Regions from separate parts of the Homo sapiens genome. Here regions 2 and 3 are each linked to region 1. Evidence: promoter capture Hi-C in human tissues and cell types (Jung and others, 2019). All regions are on one chromosome and are shown on one strand. Each heading gives the region's core, a stretch centred on a gene start or on the middle of the fragment in contact. The rest is flanking DNA. Distances are from core to core; before and after follow the strand shown.

Evidence for each region. Contacts are between HindIII fragments. The study calls those that stand out against the background at their distance.
Region 2: a fragment that was not itself captured here is called in contact with the fragment with the promoter of KDR in region 1 in 2 of the 25 tissues and cell types used here (H1 embryonic stem cells and IMR-90 fibroblasts).
Region 3: a fragment that was not itself captured here is called in contact with the fragment with the promoter of KDR in region 1 in 1 of the 25 tissues and cell types used here (H1 embryonic stem cells).

Annotation. Positions count from the first base shown.
Region 1 is chr4:55,123,397-55,128,481 of GRCh38, reverse strand. KDR (kinase insert domain receptor) reads left to right here and starts at 2,887. Exons shown (of 30, transcript NM_002253.4): 1 at 2,887-3,255. The coding sequence starts at 3,189. The HindIII fragment of the contact is 13,799 bases long and covers 1-5,085 here.
Region 2 is chr4:55,283,705-55,288,789 of GRCh38, reverse strand. No RefSeq gene overlaps it. Among named protein-coding and RNA genes, the nearest start is that of SRD5A3, 60 kb to the left of the region's middle. The HindIII fragment of the contact is 3,115 bases long and covers 1,085-4,199 here.
Region 3 is chr4:54,994,161-54,999,245 of GRCh38, reverse strand. No RefSeq gene overlaps it. Among named protein-coding and RNA genes, the nearest start is that of KDR, 130 kb to the left of the region's middle. The HindIII fragment of the contact is 4,605 bases long and covers 472-5,076 here.

The DNA of each region.
Region 1 (5,085 bases), core at 1,638-4,137:
AGAAAAGTAGCTGGAGACAAGAAGTGCTTAAAGATTAAATTAAATTTGTCTTGGGTGAGGCTATTACAATGATTCCTCATTTAAGCTCATCTTGACATTATTTTCACCATCGTAACCCCAGTTCCTGGTTCAATGCCTAGCATATAGTAGGTGCTCAAAAACTGTTGAATGAATGAGCCTGCTTAGCAGTTTAGATCTCAGCAGCATGAAGAAGCCCATGCATTGTAGTATAAGCAACCTTTGCAGAATGTTTCTTAATGTGTATCTGGTGCTTTCTATGTCCAAGATCTTTACTAGCTGTGTTGGGGCCTACTCCAAGTGCCTTACATGCAGTAACTCCTTTAATTCTTGTAAGAACCCTATGAAGAAGGTACTATTATAATTTTTTTTGTGTTTCATAGATAAGTTACTTGTAAGTTGGTAAAGATCACACAGATCATAAGCGGTAGATCTGGGAATAAAATCCAGAGTCTGTGCACTTAGCTACTACTCTGCTGTGGCATCTGAATAGCATCTATGGAACACTCAACACATTTGGGGCACTTTGCTAGGTGCCTTACTGTTGGGTTAACTCACAAAAGTCACTCCTTTGCAATGCCAGATAACGAGAGGGTGCTGCACATGGAACAGCCTTTCTTTCTTTCTTTTCTATCTTTTTTTTTTTTAACAGACTTTGCCATTTTTTTTGTGAACCTAAGGCACTTCTAAGTGCTGTGTGGGAGGGAATGTGGTAGACTGATTTCATTGAGACTCTGCCAAATTCTGGTCTTGCGGCCATCAAAGACGCATCATTTCCTCCAAGACTTCTAAAGGGGGCTATTACCACGGGCCTGCAGGTTCTGGTTTGCATTCAGAGGAGACACTATCTTCTTAAATGAGACATGGAAGAGGAAGTGTCATGAACTGTAAATAAGGCTGATAGGGAATTGTTTGGTGATGGGGATGGAGAAAAACTGCCCTCTCCAAACCAGGTTCCATCTCCCACCCCTTTATCCAACTTTGCCAGAGTCCATCCTATTTTATTTGCTGAGTTTACTAGCAGGAAGAGAGGAGTTTCTTTAAAGATTCTCTCCCCTCCCCAAATAAATACCTCCCAGATAAATATGAGTACATCTATATAGTAGAGCACTATGCCAACATTGAAAAGATGGAAGGATGGAGCTTTGTTCGCAGCCAGCTTAGGCAACATAGTGAGACCCTGCCTCTATATAAAAATAAATAAATAAATAAATAAATAAATAAATAAATAAAAGATGGAGCTTTAAAGGTTGATGTAGAACGAATCTCCAGTGTATATTATAAAGTGAAGGCTGGGCAGGGTGGCTCGTGCTTGTAATCCCAGCACTTTGGGAGACTGAGGCAGGAGGATGGACTGAGTCCAGGCATTGGAGACCAGCCTGGGCAACATAGTGAGACCTTGTCTCAAATAAATAAATCAAATTTAAAGGGAAAAAAGCCAAGGCTCAAATAGCATTTATACCAAGCAATTGTGGGAAGAGAAGGGTGACATGTCTACATACTTGTGTTTAAGAATCTGCTTGGAAAAAAAAGGAAACATAAAAATGCCTCTGCCAAAAGAAAAGTCTTTTCACTCTAAGCCTTTTTGTGTTTTTCCAAAATTTTTTTTTGCCATATACATTCATTATATTTCAGCATTAAAATATTTCACCTGTCAACTTGGAAAAGTAAAAGCGTGAATACAGTAAATATTTAAAAACAGATGAAGATAAGTAACAGGTTACATTAATTGTATACAATCAATCTAGTTTGAATTAGGTGTAGATATAATAATTCTGTGTGTTTATCTTGGTGAAGAATGGTCCTTTAGGTTGTCATTAAAAAGCACCTCTGGGAGGTAAAAGACATAGGCATCTGGAAGATTCATATTTAATGAAGTTAGGGGACATTTGATGTCACTCCCCAGGTGTGGGGAGATATGGACAGAAAACCAGAAGGAACGAATGTGGTCAGGAAGGAATTGGAGTTCCCCTCCAAACAGCTGCCACAAGAAGTCCACACACGTGGAGACAGTTGTGCAATTTGGTCACAGAGTGTCCTAGGTGCTTTTGCTTCATTGCTCCTCCACTGAAGCACGCTGGCAGCTGGCCTCCTTCCCCTGGGACTAAGGATATCTTGGCTGGAAGCTCTGCTCTGAAAAGGGGCATGGCCAAACTTTCACTAGGGCTCTTCGTTGGGGAGCACGATGGACAAAAGCCTTCTTGGGGCTAGGCAGGTCACTTCAAACTTGGAGCCGCCAAATATTTTGGGAAATAGCGGGAATGTTGGCGAACTGGGCAAGTGCGTTTTCTGATTAAGAGCAACCAGATTCAGCTTTTTAAACTACAATTATACTGGCCAAACAAAATACCCTTATACAAAAACCAAAACTACTGGCAGGAGTCGCTGCCAGCTTGCGACCCGGCATACTTGGCTGAGTATCCGCTTCTCCCTTGTGGCTCCAAACTGCTGCAGATTCTCGGCCACTTCAGACGCGCGCGATGGCGAAGAGGGTCCTGCACTTTGACGCGCCTGGTGAGGGAGCGCTGCTCTTCGCAGCGCTCCTGGTGATGCTCCCCAAATTTCGGGGACCGGCAAGCGATTAAATCTTGGAGTTGCTCAGCGCCCGTTACCGAGTACTTTTTATTTACACCAGAAACAAAGTTGTTGCTCTGGGATGTTCTCTCCTGGGCGACTTGGGGCCCAGCGCAGTCCAGTTGTGTGGGGAAATGGGGAGATGTAAATGGGCTTGGGGAGCTGGAGATCGCCGCCGGGTACCCGGGTGAGGGGCGGGGCTGGCCGCACGGGAGAGCCCCTCCTCCGCTCCGGCCCCGCCCCGCATGGCCCCGCCTCCGCGCTCTAGAGTTTCGGCACCAGCTCCCACCCTGCACTGAGTCCCGGGACCCCGGGAGAGCGGTCAATGTGTGGTCGCTGCGTTTCCTCTGCCTGCGCCGGGCATCACTTGCGCGCCGCAGAAAGTCCGTCTGGCAGCCTGGATATCCTCTCCTACCGGCACCCGCAGACGCCCCTGCAGCCGCGGTCGGCGCCCGGGCTCCCTAGCCCTGTGCGCTCAACTGTCCTGCGCTGCGGGGTGCCGCGAGTTCCACCTCCGCGCCTCCTTCTCTAGACAGGCGCTGGGAGAAAGAACCGGCTCCCGAGTTCTGGGCATTTCGCCCGGCTCGAGGTGCAGGATGCAGAGCAAGGTGCTGCTGGCCGTCGCCCTGTGGCTCTGCGTGGAGACCCGGGCCGCCTCTGTGGGTAAGGAGCCCACTCTGGAGGAGGAAGGCAGACAGGTCGGGTGAGGGCGGAGAGGACCTGAAAGCCAGATCTAACTCGGAATCGTAGAGCTGGAGAGTTGGACAGGACTTGACATTTTGCGATCTTTCATTTACCAGTGGGGAAACTGAGGCTCAGAGACTGGCCCAAGATTACCCAGCGAGTCTGTGGTCGCCTGTGCTCTAGCCCAGTTCCTTTTCTAGGACTCTGGTTTGCGACAGGGACCTCGGCTGGAGCATGTCCTGAGATGCCGACACACCCTCAGGCTCTTGGGAGGCTGGGGTGGGAAGGCGCCTGGGGTTGGCAGGCAGGAGGTGCCTCCGCAGGCGAGAACAGGCGGTGAAAAGTTGTCTGGCTGCGCGCAACATCCTAGTCCGGGCCCGGGGAAGAAAACCTTGCCGGAATCTCAGGCCGGGTCTCCCGGATCGGACGGTACACTCGGTTCTGCCTCTTTGCGGGACCCGGCCCGTTGTTGTCTTCATGCTCGAACACACTTGCACACCACTGTGTGAAGTGGGGTCTGGAGCGGAGAGAAACTTTTTTTCCTTCCTTGGTGCAGGACGCCGCTCTCCTTGCAGAGCGAAGAAGGGGGGGAATAGGGACTTGTCCTGGGGGCTTTGACAGCTTCCCCAAGGGTCTCCAAGTAACAGCCAACTGTCCTGCGTAAAGCATTGCACATCTTTCAAAGCGCTGTGGTCCTTGGTGTAAGCGCATAGTCAGAAGTTCAAGCTCCGAAAACCTTTCCTGTGGGCCTTGGTACCTAGCTTTAGTGCCATTCCTTCCTCTCCCTGCCGCCTAAAATTTCCGTCTCCTTCAATTAGGAACACACACGTTCTTCATGCAATAGCTGTCTGTCTTTTCTTCCTCACTTTCCTTTCTCTCTCAACCCCTTAGATAATATTTCTTTCCTGCAGCCAGTTTGCTGATATCCAGATTTCCACCCTTTGCAGGGTGAGAAAGGGGAAAGGGTCAGAGAAAGAAAAAAAAAAAGTCGAATAATTCAGGGAAAAAAATTTCTTACTCCCTAAGACAAGAATCACATGTCTTAGAAGACACTCACACCCACATACAGTACCAGGATCATCTGTCCATGGTTACTGAATTTTCTTTATAATGACTTGGTTCAACGGGTCCAGTCCACCATGGACACTCATTTGTCCCAGACAAGCCCTCTCTCTCCCCCTTTCTGGGCAGAGAATGAAGGTCTGGAACATGTGGTTGCTCTGTATTCCACAAAGAAGTGAGTTGCTTTTAAGCCTGGGGTGTTTCCTAGCGTAGTAGTAACGGCAGGCCGGTCGCCCTGAATATAATGGTGAACTTGCCCTTTTGGAGTGCATTACTTGCTTAATTGGATTGGGCTGTAATTGGTGCCATCAAATTCTAGAGACAGAGGCACTGTTGTTTTTCCTTCCCGTCTTTGAGCTGGAAGGGTAACAGTGCACAAATTAATTAATATTGGTTATGGGATTTGAACATAGAAGGGCTTTTTATTGAGTAGTAGCATGTGTACCTCTTACAGTTATTTCTTTAGAACTTTCTGAAGAGTCCAGCTCAAGCTTGCCAATGAAAACGAATGACATTTAATGGAGCAAAAACAAAAAACAAAAAACTATGTTGGTCTACAAATATGAATTTGAAGTTATTGAGAGCCTTGTTGAATAGATTTTTGTTGTAAACGTGTCTCTAGAATAGTATGGCATAGTCTCAGCTTCCTATGAATGAAGGACATACCTTTTCTTTTTTAAAATATTTGTTACACAGGAAAGTGTGTCTAGAATGTGATCTGTGGCAATAAATTATGAGAGACCTTCA
Region 2 (5,085 bases), core at 1,393-3,892, 160 kb before region 1:
TACTTCGTTGTTTCCTTTGTTATGCAGAAGCTTTTTAACTTGGTGTGATCCCATTTGTCCATATTTACTTTGGTTGCTTGTGTTTGTGGGGTATTACTCAAGAAATCTTTGCCCAGACCTATTTTTATTTATCTACTTATTTTTAGAGACAGGTTCTCACTTTGTTGCCCAGGCTGGGGTATAGTGGTGCAATCATGGCTCACTGAAGCGGTAAACTCCTGGGCTCGAGTGATCTTCCCACCTCAGCCTCCCAAACAGCTGGGACCACAGGTGCACACCACTGTGGCTGGCTAATTCTTTTTTAAAAGTTTTTTTTTAGAGATCTATCTTACTATGTTACCTAGGCTGGGTCTTGAACTCTGGGCCTCAAGCAATCCTTCTGCCTTGGCATCCCACAGTGCTAGGATTACAGGGCTGGGCCACCATGTCTGGCCTCCAATTTATTATGGTAGTAAAAAGAAGGCTGTTTTAGATCTGTGGAGTGCATTTCCATCCCACTAGAAGTATATGAGTTTTGTGCCTGACCCAGACTTCTCAGGTAATAGTGAGCAGCACCAGCCATCATAGGCAGCCAGGCAAGGCCTAAGCTAAAGTCTTATCCCAGCTTGATCTTAGCATCAAGTTACTTTCTTCTTCTGAATCAAAACATTCATATTCCCACATATTTTCTCTGTGAGCATTTTTGATGAATATTTATTGGCCTGGGTTATATTGCCTTCTTCCCCAGTATATATTTACTGGGGCTAGCACTTTTAAATTTTCAGAAACTACCACAAGTATTGACATTTATTTTCCAGGCTCCAAGAAAATATTATCTATGCTGTTTGGAAAGACATTATTTGGTGTCTGGTTAGTTAAGAAATGGAGACATTGAAATCTGACCTTAATTTGGGCTCCTAAACTCCTTTTTGAGAGTATAATTTTTATTTGTGTATAAGAATATTTTAAAAAGAAAAGTATATTTAGGCTTTACATAGTACATTATAAACATGAATTTATTCTTTCTTATATTTTGAGTAGAGTCAGTAAAACCCTTAAAAGGGTAAATTGGCCTAAATTATTCAGTGGTCAAACCAGGAATTAAACCTTCGTCTCCAGATTCCCCAACCAGGGCACTCTAGCAGGCAGTGGTGGACTGGCTGACATCCAGGGAGGTCTGATGGAAAGAGCACAGACTTTGGAGTCATGGGTTCAAATCTCTGCCCTACCCTTTACCAGCCGCATACATTTGGACAAGTTACTTGATGTCTCTGAGCCTTATTTACCTCATTGGTCAAACATACGCCCATCAAGGGTTTTTTTTGTGAGCACTCAATGAGTTAACTATATGTGTCTGGCACAGAACACGCATACAATGTCTGTGCCCTTATTCTCTTGCCTTTGGTTAATAATCCTATGCATGCTTCTCTCACAGAGGATAAATGTTTCTCGTTTTGGATCACTCAGGAAAAACCCTGCTCTGAAGATAAGGAAAAATGTCCACTGATTTTTTTGCAAGTTATCTTGGACTCTATTAATAATACATTCTCTGGTATTATTTATGAAATAACTTTGTATAACATGTATTTGAGCAGTATTTCCCACTAAACACTAATGCACTTAAAAAAAAGCACTTTTTACCTATTACAATCCCGCTTTTCTATCCTTGATAACAGAAGTTGCAATATAGATTCTTTTTTTTCTTCCTTCCTCCTCCTCTTCACCTCTGGGGCCCACAGGGGTACTCAGGAAAGAATTTACTTGGTTTTCTCTTTGGTTCATTGTTAAATTTGGGATTAGAAACACTCATAAATAGAATATTAAAAGTTTCCCCAACCATACAGGATGATGCTCAGGAGCCACACTTTTAGCCACACTAAAAAGTAGAGTAGGGTGTAAAGAAAATCTAGACAGGAGTTCCTTTCTGGTGGATCTGAATGAATCTGTATGTGCCCTGTCACTTAAGACATATCTAATCAGGAAAACTATCAAAATAAAACAATTACAATTACAATTTATTTAATAATAATATCTACCATTTATTAAGTATTTACTAAGTACAGGAGATGTGATAAGCATTTTATATGCTTTAACTTATTTAAAGGCAAGGCTACTATTATTCTCAAGTTACAGGTGAGGAAAATAAGATTTATTCAAGCTTGCACAGCTTGTAGTAAGTGGCAGAGCTAGGCTCTGAATCACCAAGCATATCTTCTGTCTTCCAGTAACAATAACTATCATTCTTGGAGACCTGATGATGTGTCAGGCATTATGCTAATTTCTATTCATACATTATCATAACATTCCCATGATGTAGGCATTAATATCTTCATTTTAGAGTTAAAAAAACTGAGACATTCTAATTATATTAATGACTTATTAACTTGTACTTCAATCATGTGTCTGCACATTGATAAATGACGTTCATAATTTGAGGTATTGTTAAATCTTTAAAAGTATTTAAAACAAAAATAATTAAATGAAAGTAATTGATATATGTGCTTAAAAACAAAGTAGAACAAGGAGCTTGTAATAAAAAGTCATAGTCCCTAGCTCCACTGATCTCTACTCCACATTCATTCTCCAGAAGCAATCAATTTCAACAGTTTCCTTGTGTTCTTTTGGGATATCTATCCATAAATCTAGAAAATGTATTTACAGAATTAGTTCTTAATTTATCCAATTTAGACATTTTCTGTTGATAATTTAGCTCACTCATATTCTTACCTCATCCACCCTTATTCTCCTCTAGATACAGTTGTATCTCTATATTCAATTTCAAAAACAAATTTAAACCTTCGTTTCTTTTTTATTCCTTTTTTGGGCTGGAGGATGTCTTCCTGTAACTTCTTAAGAAAAAGTGACTCTTTTCCTTGATATATTTTTGGATGATCAAATAAGGCTTTTATTTTTTCTTTTCTGATTGATTATTTGACTAGGTATAAAATTCTAGGTTGAAAATATTTTTTTCTCTAAAATTGGAAGGCTTTGAGGTAATACAAGTAAGATAGGAATAGGAGTTTTCAGCCGTCATGCTCCCCATAGAAACACTTATTCTGACAATCACCCGTGGATGAGAGTACTCAAGAGTCCAGTAGAGGAGTCCAATGGAGAAATCCCTGTGCCTGTTGGAACAAACAAACAAAAAATCAAGAATAGATGTATTGAAGAGGCTAAGAAAAACAGTTTTGAACACTTTACCCACATCATCTATCCAATGTGGCACACCTTGGTGCCAAGAGAAACTCCTTCAGCCTGCAATTTCTCCAACAGGGGAATGTGACAGCATAGTGAGAACTGGCTTCCCCAACCATGCAGGATGATGCTCAGGGCCACACTTCCGTCTTGTTCCACTCAGATCACTGGGAATATCAGCATAGCTGAATAATCATGGGATAGCAAGGAGCAGAGGAAAAAGGTGGGGGCTCACAACAAGTGGGGAGTGGAATTCAACAAAGGGCCATGGTTTCTACTAACTGCCTCAAGAACTTCACTAAGAGGACTGCCCACAAACCTCATAGAACACATCACCTGCAGCTCCCCTAACTGGCCAACATGCATCCCCAGCACTCCAAGCCCCCCACTCCTGTAGCTGGCATCTCATGCATGCCCTTACAGATGGTGCATGTGAGTCTCTGCAAATTATGCACAAACACATGCAGACAGCCAGATCAACTCTGCAGGATTGGCAGAAGGTGTAAAGGTGTTTGATCTTAAACACTTCAGGGAACTGCCCCAGGGAAAATAAATGGGAGGCTCACTGCACCTGGCCTGCCTTTGTGGGACCAAAAGAAGACATACAATTCTAAGACCCACCCCCCACCCCACCAACCAAATAGGGGCAAGAGAAGTGAAGCAGGTACATCCATAAAAAAGGTCTGAGTGACCCCAGAATTCCTAGCTGGGCTGACTGGTGCAGGTCCTTCTATCCTGAAGTCAGCCAGCAAAGACTGAAGGATGTCACTGCTTCTTCACATGTAAAGAGAGCAATGTAAGACTTCAAGAAACACAAAAACAAAAAATCAAGGAAGCACGACATCACCAAACAGCACAGTAATTTTTCAGTAACCAACCCCAAATAAATGGATATCTAGACATTACCTGATGAAGAATTCAAAATACTTGTTTTAAGGAAGCTCAGCAAACTACAAAATAAAACAGAAAACTCAGTAAATTCAGGAAAACAATACACGAACAAAGCTAGAAGATGAGCAAAGAGAAATGTAAAAAAAAAAAATTAAATTCTGGAGCTGAAAAATACAATGAGTGAAATGAAAAGAGCAATAGAGAGCTTCAACAGCAGACTTGATCAAACAGAAGAAAGAATTTGTAAACTTCAAGGTAGGTCATTTGAAATTACCCAGTCAGAAGGGGGGAAAAAAGAAATGAAAAAGAGTGAAGAAATTCTGCAAATTTATGGGACACCATCAAGTGAACCAATATATACAATTAGGAAGTCCCAGAAAAAAGAAGCAGGAAAGAGGGCAGAAGGCTTATTTAAAGAAATGAAGGCTAAAACTTTCCAAATTTTAGGAGCGATATGAACACCCAGGTTCATGAAGCTCCAGTGTCCCCAGTAGAATCAACCCAAAGAAGATTACACCAAGACATATTATAATAAAGTTGTCAAAAGTTAAAGACAAAAAGATAATCTTGAAAGCAGAAAGAGAAAAAACAACTTGTAACATATGAGTAAACCCCCCTCCATAAGGCTATAAGCAAATTTATTGGCAGAAACCTTGCAGGCCAAGTAAGAGTGGGATGATATATTCAAAGTGCTGAAAGAAAAAAATTGCCAACCAAGAACACTATACCTGGCATAGCTGTCCTTCAGAAATAAAGGAGAGCTATTTTCCCAGACAAACAGAAGCTGAGGGAATTCATCACTACTAGACCTGCCTTATGAGGAATGATAAAGGAAGTTCTTTAAGTTGAAATGAAAGAATGCTAATTAGTAATATGAAAATATATTAAAGCATAAAACTCACTGGTAAAGGTAGGCATATAGTAAACTTCAGAATACTAAAATACTATAATGGTGGTGTGTAAATAACTTTTAATTCTAGAACAAAAATTGACAAAAGTATTAAAAATAACTATAGCTAA
Region 3 (5,085 bases), core at 1,525-4,024, 130 kb after region 1:
AGGCTAAAATACTCTTGGCACCAAATCCTGAGCTAAAAAGAGAGTTTTTCCAAAGAACTGGAGCACCCCTAGCAGGACAATAAAGGAACTTGAAGAGTAAGAGTTGAAAATTGTCAGAAAGGCAACTATGTACTCCAAGGAAGAGAAAGCAAGAATTTAAGCAAATAGCAAGGAGAAAAAAGCTCCCAGCTGGCTGGATAGTGAGGAGGCAGACACTGATGGATGCTCTGAAGCCAGCTGCTGAGAAGTAAAGGACAGGATTAAAACCGTATGACGTGGCAAGAAAGACCACTGGTCAAATGTTTGTCTGTTATACCTCTATCAAACATACTGTTATATCTCTCATATTCTCATATCCAGAGCCTGAATTTTTGGTATTTTGTTCATCATGGATTTTTTCCATTGATTTAGATTTCTGCAACATATTTTATTAAAATATTTATCCTGATGGTAGTTTTTTGGTGTCCTCTTAAATGTTGCTTCTCATTCATCTCACCCTGATTCTGGTCTTGCCTATGCCATTGATCATTGAGAAATACTCCCATATATGGTCACACTCACCCCTCATAGCAACCCAATAGGTAGGTATCACTAGCTGCATTTTGTGGTGTAACAAACTGAGCAAACTGAGACAGATTAAGTGCCTGCCAAACTTTATGCAGCCAATTGAAAAGTTTAACCTGTTCAAGTTGATCTTGAACACAGGCTACATTCTTGCCACCAAAGCATAGCTGCAGTCCAAGGCAATAATACAAAGACACTATAGGGAATCAGGTAAGAGTGGAATGAAATACATGAATAAAATTCATCTGAAGAAGTATTATGATTGAAATGGAGATCATGAGATGCTTAATGCAAGGCGACTGTAGTGGTCTGAGCAGTATTGCTTTCCATGGAGTATTTGATAGGTAACTCTCAAAAAGTTTGTTGAATCAAATATTTTCACTTTTCTTATTCTGTATTCTTTGCACCAAAGAAACATCTTTCTCAACAACTTATTTAAGCCATTGACTAGATTTGGCATGCAAACCAGTTCAATGTGTCAAAATCCTACTTGTGGCTGGGTGCAGTGGCTCATGCCTGTAATCCCAGCACTTTGGGAGGCCGAGGCAGGTGGATTACCTAAGGCCAGGGGTTCGAGACCAGCCTGGCCAACATAGTGAAACCCTGTCTCTACTAAAAATACAAAAAACATTAGCTGGGCATGGTGGTGGGCGCCTGTAATCTCAGCTACTTGGAAGGCTGAGGCAAGAGAATCGCTTGAACCCAGGAGGTGGAGGTTGCAGTGAGTCGAGACTGTGCCATTGCACTCCAGCCTGGGCAACAAAAGCAAAACTCCATCTCAAAAAAACAAAAACAAAAACAAAAAACAAAACAAAACAAAACAAAACTCTACTTGTGCACTCCTGGTCCATCATAGCAACCTGCTTTAAGTATTCATTTATTCCTTAGTTAAAACCAGGAATTAGTTTTCCTTGGATACACACCATCAAAGCCATTTTTAATTAAATTCTTGGCAGAATGCAGGGAGAAACATTTGATTAGCCAATCTTCATGAGGATGATATTCATAAGTTGTGTGGAAAAATTGTTTTCATTATTTAATAATTATAGCCCATTCTCTCTCATATGCTTATCTGCATATAAACATATATGCAGCATATAAACAATCTGAAGCATATAAACAATAATCTGAAAAAAAAAAAAAAAACCTCAAGACATTTGGATTTTGGCCACAGGTAGAAATGCCCCCAGATAGCCCTTGCAATGCAATCTTTTGCACTAAGCATATTTAGGAAAGCAGGAGGCTCTTCCTTTGAAGTGCTTAGTTTGGAATTTAAAAAGTGCAGCCTTTCATTCAGGAGACTGGTGGATAAATATATGCCATAGAAGACCCATGAAAGGGAAAGCCTCACCAGCTTCTTCACACATGTGCTTTTCGTCTGGGTTTCAGCGATGCTAAGAGAATTCAGATTTATACGTGAATTCTATTTGTCTTGTTCAACTTTCAGTGCAGAGAGAACAGCCATTTATATGAAATGAATGCATGGAAAAAGTTGTTTCAAGAAAAATGATTGTGATAGAGATATTCTCTGTAGATACCTCTGGGGAATTGGCTGTTATTAAATATTATTGAATAACATAGTTAAATGTTCCCAAAGGGAAAGTTTCATATAAATTTAATGTCCCCAATGAACTATTCATTATTTATTTATTCAATACATATTGATGGTTTAGGAATGTTCTAGGAGCTGGGGATACAGCAGTGACTAAGGCAGGCCACATCCTTGTCCTCTTGAAGCTTACATTCTAAGGGACAGACAGGCTGGTATGGTTTGGATTTGTGTCCCCACCCAAATCTCATTTGAATTATAACCCCCTATATTGGAGGTAGGGCCTGGTGGGAGAGGATTTGATCATGGAGGTGGATTTCCCCCTTGCTGTTCTCATGATAGTGAGTGAGTTCTCAGGAGATCTGGTTGTTTAAAAGTGTGTGGCATCTCCCCCTATCTCTCTTCCCTCCTACTCCAGCCATGTAAGATGTGCCTGGTTCTCCTTCACCTTCCGCCATGATTGAAAGTTTCCTAAGGCCTCCCCAACCTGTACAGCCTGCAGAACTGTGAGTCAATTAAACCTCTTTTCTTTGTAAATTACCCAGTCTCGCATATTTCTTTATAGTAGTACAAGAACAAACTATTAATAGTACACGGGCTATAAGAAAACAATTAATGGAATAATATAATTTCAGGTGAAACATGAAAAGCATAAATCAGGGTTAGTGATAGAGATTGATGGGATGGTTAGTCAGGCTATTGCAGCAGGATATCCTGGGAATATCTTTCTAAAAAGGGACATTTGACCAGATATTTGGATAATATGAATGCTTAAGCTGTGTGAGAATCTGGAGGATGTCTTCCAAATGGAAGAAGCTTTTAGAATGTGAACTCCATGAAATGAGAAACTTTGTTGTGTTCACTGTTGCATCCTCACATACTCCGCATTTGATACATCCTTGTTGAATTTTTGCTCATGAAAGACCTTGTTGTGGGAACGATTAAACAGAGCAGCATGTTGGAGCTGAGGGAGTAGGGGAGGAATCAAGTTGTAAAGTTGTCATTGTTCCCGGTGTCTTTACTAATAGAGCCTCTTTCAGTCTCAACACTGCCTGGTTTGGATGGATAAATTATATGTCCACTTTCCTAACAGGCTATGGTAAGGAGTTTGGATGTAATCGTGATGGGAAGTCAGCAGAAGACTCTGAGTATGGGAGCAGTGTTATTTTCTCTGTTAAAAATAGATCTTTGTGGAGATAAATATATTATGGAGGTGGCGGTTGGGGGGTGTTAGGCAATAGTGGAAATGAGGTGACAGTGAGGACAGTTAGTAGGTAATTACAATGATCCAGGTGAGAGATGATAGTGATATGGACGAGGGTGATAGCTGTGGAGGTGACAAAAGTGGGCAGATTGGGAATATAATTTAACATAAAGATGGTAGTCTTGTTGAAGATTTTAATGTGAAGTAGTAGACAACGAGAAACCAAAGAAAACCCCTAGGATTTTGGAGATACTGTAGGAGACCACAATTATACAACCTTGAAGTAAATGAACCTTCTACTTTGGGCAGGTTAAATTTGAGGTCCACAGTGAACATTAAAGCAGAGATACTGAAGAAGAAGTTGTATACACAGGTTTGGAGGCCTGGTAACGATGTGGAATTCATCAGTATATAATTAATATTTAAAGCCATTGGACTGAATAGGATTTCCTAGGAACTGAGTAAGGATGGAGAAGAATGAGGACTGGGTCTTGGAGCACTGCAGCATTTAAAAATAAGAAATGAAAGAAGCTAATGATGTCTCAAAGGATATTGAGATATACGAGTAATTGGGAAATTAATAGAAATAAACACAAAATGGGCCTTAGTTTAAAGTCAAACATCATAAACCTAAAAAATTTATATTTTAAAAAAAGAATGTGTACTTTTTAAAGAAAGGAGAAAAGGCGAGAAAAGAGAAAAGAAGCACACATCATAAAAAATACAATAAATTGAAAACATAAAATAAGGCAGAAATGTTATAGTATTAAAATTATTATAATGAATACAAATGGTTTAATTTTATCAATATAAAGAGAGAATTTCAGAATAATAAAAAGATTATAACAATTTGCAGTCTGTAAGAAACACACTGAAATAGGATATCAAAAATTTGAAAATAAAAGGATGTAATAAGCTATATTAGATAAAACATGAATCAAATTAGATGGAGTGGTATTATAATATCTGAAAAAGCAGAATTCAAGGTAAAATATGTCATAAGACACAAAGAGGATGTATCTTGGATAAAAGAATATGGAGTAATAACATGTAAACATTAATAAACCACATAAATACCTATGAAGTAAACTATATAACCTCAAGAAATACTATGCAACAACTTGAAAAAGTTTAGGGAGAATTACTAAGTCAACTATTATAATTGGAAGTGTTAATATTTCCCTCGCAAAAATGATAGATCAAACACACAAAAAATAATCAGAGCTTTAGAACATGTGAATAATACAATTAATGATCTTTAGACATTGTGTGTCCAGAATTGGTGGGTTCTTGGCCTCACCAACTTCGAGAATGAAGCCGCGGACCCTAGCGGTGAGTGTCACAGTTCTTAAAAGCAGCGTGTCCAGAGTTTGTTCCTTCTGATGCTCGGATGTGTTCGGAGTTTCTTCCTTCTGGTGGGTTCGTGGTCTCGCTGGCTTCAGGAGTGAAGCTGCAGACCTTCGTGGTGAGTGTTACAGCTCATAAAGGCAGTGTGGACCCAAAGAGTGAGCAACACCAAAATTTATTGCAAAGAGCAAAAGAACAAAGCTTCCACAGCGTGGAAGGGGACCTGAGCAAATTGTCCCTGCTGACTGGGGCAGCCTGCTTTTATTCTCTTATCTGGCCCCACCCACATCCTGCTGACTGGTCCATTTTACAGAGAGCTGATTAGCTGATTGGTCCATTTTACAGAGAGCTGATTGGTCCGTTTTGACAGGGTGCTGATTGGTGCGTTTACAATCTCTGAGCTAGACACAAAAGTTCTCCA